2 separate regions of the Homo sapiens genome follow, and region 1 is linked to region 2. Evidence: promoter capture Hi-C in 16 types of primary human blood cells and fetal thymus (Javierre and others, 2016). All regions are on one chromosome and are shown on one strand. The core of a region is centred on a gene start or on the middle of the fragment in contact, and the rest is flanking DNA. Distances in the headings are between cores, read along the strand shown. Region 1 has its middle 11 kb from the start of CDH20. Region 2 holds the start of RNF152 (ring finger protein 152).

Region 1 (2,778 bases), core at 279-2,778, 570 kb after region 2:
ATCTCCCAGGATGGTTAGGAACTCAAAACAGATCCATCTGTGAGAGATATACCAGGAAGAGGTTGCAGATGTCATCTCAATTGCAATGGGAGACTAAGAGGCCAACAGAGGCAGTTAGAGCTAGGAGTATGCCCAATTCATACAACCTCTTGGGGTCAGTAATCTGTATGAGTACTGTGTGCTGAAACAGAGAATTTTGGCTATGACTTTTTCGCATGGTTAGGGTCCACTACAGTGAGCACCTGGAAGGGAAGAGACAGCAGAAATGTGGAAGAGTGAGGTGAGGGTGAATAACGGTAAGGGAAAATAGAATGTGGAGGAGAAAGTAAGGGAATTATTGAAATCCTAATGGCCAGTTTGTCTGTTTTGCCTTTCATATAGTTCATAAGTAAAAAGAAATAGAATAGAGAAGGAAAGAAAATCTAGAAAGTTTGCGAAAGAAGAGGAGAGCATCGTAACCTGCCATTCCAGGTGCTTTTTGTTGCAAGGATTCTTTTGATGAAAAGAAGAGCTGTCCAACAAGAGATTATGTGGCTGGGTACCCTATCAGTTCACTTAGGAGGTAGCCAAGGGAAATATTTTTCAGTAAATCAAATATTTTTCAACAAGAAGTTTGTTGTGAGCTTTAGATCAATAGAGAAAATAGATTTATTTTGGAGAATGTATAGGAGAAAAAGGGACAGAACTCTTAGAAGAAATTTGTGATTTTATTTAGCATGTTTAGGGCTAAAAATTCTCACCATTCTTTCCAGAAATAAAGCAGTGGGATTGAAACAATCGGGCCTTCTTTGGGGATGGTGATATTTTTGGAAAGGAAAAAGACAGATTTGGGGATATAGAATTATAACTGCAGGAGAAGCTGGAGTTAAACCACATTCCAGGAACTTTTCACCTAAGGGGCAAAGGACTATGGGTTTGTGTATGATGGGGCTGATGATGTTGAGGATGACACCAACAGTAATAATAACAACGCATTTACTACACGTATACCATGTGCCAGAGACTGTACCCAGCAATTGCATACATTATATCACTTAAGATGAAATAATAACCTGTCAAACCACCACCATTTAAGATGGCCTCCACAGATGAGGACAGCCAGGCTGAGACATGTTAAGCTTATTTTATAAGTCCAAAGATAAACAAATTATAGGTGCAGCTTAAGAAATTATTCCAGGAAATATGCTGTTCGTGGAAGCCTTCCAGGTGTGGAGAACAAGGACCCAGAAGTGATGTCTTTATGTTGATGGAGAGTCTCTGTGAGGAAGAAGGGCCGATCTTCCCTACTGTCTGAGCCCAGCCAGGGGGAGACAGGAGGGACAGAACAGGCGCCATCTGCCCTCACCGGTGCATGGGCGCCACCTACAGGTGTAAGGCGAGATAGGATGAGGGGAGCCACAGAAGACCGAAGGCAAAATGCAGAGAGGATGGGAAATGGGGAGGTGGTGAGTATTATATAGATCAGTCAGAAGAGCTGTCAACAGCATGGGATTAAGACAGCCCTGCTCAACAATGGACATGATAATCCATTGCCCCAGAAGACGGGTCCATAGTGGAAGAAAGAAGTGAACGGGCCTTCTAGAGGTGTGAACTGCAGAGATCCAAGACCATGAGAATGACTAATCCATAGAACATGGGACCCAAACCCCAGAGGTAAGGATATAGGAGAAGAGAACTAGTGTATCCCCTAGGATAAGTAGGAGAAGGTGGAGGAAGCCTTGTGGATCTAAGAAAAGTCATCTGTCCCTTCTTACAATTTTAAAGCAAGTAGCTCAGGCAGGTAAGATGTGAGTGAAGCTGGCTCCTGGAGGGCTTCAGCACACAACACCAGGCAAAGATGTAGCCTGAAGAACAGGGGTGAAGTACTAAGTGGGGGTTTCTGCATATTAAGAACATAGGCCTGTGGTTTTATAACACTTGTCAGTATGATTAAGCTTGGGGTTAGGTGTGGGTTGGTTAGAGTTGGGTTAGGGCTAATGAATAGTTGTCCTAAAGATGCATGAGATGAAATCTGGGAAGGAGCTTATATGAAAGTGAATCAAGAACAAAAAAAGGTCAAGCTTGTGAATGTATTGAATAAGGAAGTGTATCTCGGGAGAAGAGGTGAAGCAATGGAAAAAAAGACTGACTGATAGAGGTGACAGTTTAGTCAATGTAAGAAAATAGATTGAAGTATTTCTTTCTTCCTTTTTCTTTTTCTTTTTCTTTATTTACATCCACCTCAGTGTCCCAGCCCACCACGATAATAATAGCAGTAGTTAATGTTGACTGAATGTCTACAATGCTCTAGGAACTGTTTTAAGAGTCATATGCACTAGCTCATGTATTCCTTCTGACAGTTCTAGAGGTGCTACTCTTATTGCCCTTCATGTGAAAAAGGACATCAAAGGCAGAGAGGCAAAAAAAGCACACTCAATGTTATACAGGTAGTAAGAGCTAAAGCAGGAAATGCAGTTCAAGTGTTGGGATTTCAGTCTATATCCATTACCATGATACTCGATTGCTTCTTAGTGCGTATCTATCCACCTCTTTATAGGCCAAAATATGTTAATGAAATGATACATGACCTCCCCAAATGGACAGATGTATGTATAACAAAAATATAAATTGTGACTGCAGAATGTGCAGAGGCCCTTATAGTCCTATCTTACTCTTGGGGCTACATTTGCAGGGTTATTATAGTGGTAACCTATAGCTGCACACAAATGATCCCAAATTTAGTGGCTTACAAACCAACCAGAAACATTTGTTATTGCACAGTTTCTGTACACCAGAAAT
Region 2 (2,984 bases), core at 48-2,547:
GCGTCCGCCCCGTGGCTCTCGGCCGGAGGAGCGGCGGCCGCCGGCCCGGGGCGCGAGTCTGGCTGAAAGGAGCGGGCGCGCCGGGACCACCCGGCGATGCTGTCGCCGCCGCCGCCGCCTCTGTAGCGAGCACCCGAGCCCGCCGCGGAGAAAGGTCAGTGAGTTTCGGTTTGTTTCTCTGCTCTGCCGGCTCCGGATCGGGGGCGGACAGAGGGGTGCGCAGGGATGTCTGCGCCCCTACGGCGGCCGCGCCGAAGCCGTGGAAGCGGGAAAGGGCAGCTGCCGCCTGCTGTAACTGGGGAGATCTTCTGGACCGCGGAGGGGGTGGCGGGGCCGCAGGGTCCCGGGGAGGGGAGCGCGGGGTCTGGCGGGGCACGGGGGAGGTGGTCCCGGGAGTTGCGTGTCTCCTGAGAGCTGGCGGAGTTGGGCGGGCGGCCGCGGCGGGGAGCGGCGCTGTCGGCTGCTCGGCCGAGTCCTCGGATGCCCCCTGGAGCTCCGGTCCGAGGGAGCTTTCCTCGTGCCCGCGCCGCGCGCGCCCCTGGGTGTGCACGTGCGCGCGCGCCCGCCCCAGTTGCGCCCCCGGCCCGCACACACCCCGGCTCATCTTCTCCCGGTCCCCTTGTCTCGCGCCTTCTCCAGCCCTAGAAGTTGCCCCAGGGCCCCTCCCGGGATTAGAGAGCGCTGTGAAGGGCCAGATGTTGGGGGTCTTTTGTGCAGACACACGCGCCTGGGGCGCTTGCTCCTGGAAGGACAGCGGCAGGACAAAGCCAGCTGGACTCGTGGGGCGCTGCTCGGGAAGCGGCGGTCCCCAATCCCGCCTGGGGTCGGGGCATGGCTTGGGGAGCGCTGCCTGGGTCTGGAGAGAGTAGAGAAATCGCCAAAGCAGAGTGACGGTGACTTGATGAGGTGACGGTGACTTGATGAGGTGGCGGTGACTTGATGAGGTGGCGGACAGGGGCAAACGAAAGAAAGATGCTCGGGATTGCCGCGCTGTGTGCCTGTCTGCGCGGCTGACTAGGCGCCCCGCATTCCCATATGACCGGGTTACCTGGTAGATTTTGCCAGTGTGTCTTTGCCCCAAGATGTTATTCCCCACCTGCTCCGATTTCTTTCTTTCCTAGGGCTTACTGTTGCTAGTAGGCGCTCTGCCACCAGAGGGGAACTCGTGGGCGGGGGAGACTGCGGAGGAGGGGGGAGGTGGTTATTTATCCTGTAGAGACAATTAGGAGCCGTGACGCCCCCTTCTCGGCCGCCAGCCCTCCACACCTCATCTGCCTTGCTCCACCTCCCTAGTGCACCCGCTCCAGCCCCGTCTGCCCAGGAGGGCGCTTGGATTTCCTTCTCCGCGGCGCGTATCTAACCCTTCCTGCATGTATTTCACTGCAGGCTGAAGAAAGCTCAGTCTCAATTGTGTTTCCTGCCTGTCAGCCTCTTGCCTCCTAAACGTGTACCATTTCCACTTGATGTCATCACGCAGAAGGGGTGAAAGAGACTCGGTGACAGATACAGGTAACCCCCCACGATCTGGGTAGCGCCTGGGTGTCTCTGGGTCATTTGGGCCGACAGTGCTGGCACAGGGCTGTTTGGGTGGTTTCTGCATCAACATCGTTCCTATCTGTGAGAAGGTGTGGGGGCTGCTAAAACTCCTGGTTCAAAGAAATAAATTGCAAATGACTTTATACCTTCCCTTTGAAGAAGCCATTGGAGGTAGGTGCAGGGTGAATTTGGGATTGTAGAAATCCCACCTGGTTTCCTTTCATGGGAATTTTGATATAATTCATACACAGGCAGTTGTATCTGAATGTTAGGTTTCCATAGATGCCTGCTTTCTTATCTGTAGTAATAGATTTAGGCTTCAGTCTAGAGGTGGGGTATCCTTTGTTGAAAAGGTATCATTGGAAGGCTGATTGTACTTTTGCCCAGTGCTCTAATTGAGCACCGGTCAAATGCAGTGACCTTCGTATGAAATACTGTCTTTCTTCTGTTCCTTCATTGTAATAGTGTTTGCAATATTAAGAGAGACATGCTAGCAGTGAGTACTGGGAGGTGGAAGGGAGGGCTGTTGGGGGCAGCAGAAAGAGAACAGAGAAAACAGCTTGAGTGAAGTTTCCATTTAGATAGCCATGAACCAGTAGACTCTCATTCTGGATTTTATCTTTAGGTTATTGGGGCTTTTCCAAAAACTCTGGCCTGTTCTTTTCTTTCCAAGGATAGTTCTGTTTTGATGTCAGCCTAGCCAGATCTGGGGTTATCTTGATAAGAGTGCAATGAAAAAACGTAACCTTCAGACTTAGCAGGACACTCCGGCATTAGCATTTTCTGCTAGAGGGCAGAGTCCTGCGCATCCTACACTAGTAGCAGGGAATAAGAATGGTTATGGAAATGGGCTTTCGATTTTTCTTGTAGGAAGACAGATTGCTGAGGGCCAAAGGCTCCTGGTCTACTCTCTTTTACATTGCAGTAACACCTTGGTATCTGTGACAGATTCTCTCTTCACCATTTTCCTCCAAATCCCTTGAAAAATGAAGTTAAAAACTTGAAAGATTTATTATTCACCTCCAATGTAGTTTTGTTTTGGAAGGTGACTTTAAAAACATAGGTGACACTAGCATTTATCCTTCTACTACAAGCATTCAGGAGTCACTAGTAAAAGCAGTTGAGTTATCTAGTCCCAGGTGAAACAAAGGCCAGTGCTTTGCAAAGATCAGATGAGTAATGTGGTGCTAAGATAGAGGTATTTTTGACAAGTAATTTTTATGTCAGCAATAGTACAGGGTGTGTACTGTGTTGCTGCAAGAAGAAAAAACATGTGATGGGATAATAGGGAATGTAATAATGCAATAGAAACAAGGGTGTGGTTTTTTTTTTAATAGAAAGAATAAACACTTCGCACACAAAATTCCACATGGCAAAACAGTAGCCTGCCCATGTAAATGCACGTCCAAGAACAAAGATAGCCACAGTGCAGTGTTAGGTTTCATTGT

The links. Contacts are between HindIII fragments. The CHiCAGO score rates a contact against its expected background, and 5 or more counts as called.
Region 1: a contact is called between a fragment that was not itself captured here and the fragment with the promoter of RNF152 in region 2, in 1 of 17 cell types (total B cells). The highest score is 5.8, in total B cells.

The regions. Positions count from the first base shown.
Region 1 is chr18:61,321,026-61,323,803 of GRCh38, reverse strand. No RefSeq gene overlaps it. Among named protein-coding and RNA genes, the nearest start is that of CDH20, 11 kb to the left of the region's middle. The HindIII fragment of the contact is 816 bases long and covers 1,121-1,936 here.
Region 2 is chr18:61,891,320-61,894,303 of GRCh38, reverse strand. RNF152 (ring finger protein 152) reads left to right here and starts at 1,297. Exons shown (of 2, transcript NM_173557.3): 1 at 1,297-1,509. RefSeq lists a silencer at 1-111. The HindIII fragment of the contact is 8,244 bases long and covers 1-2,984 here.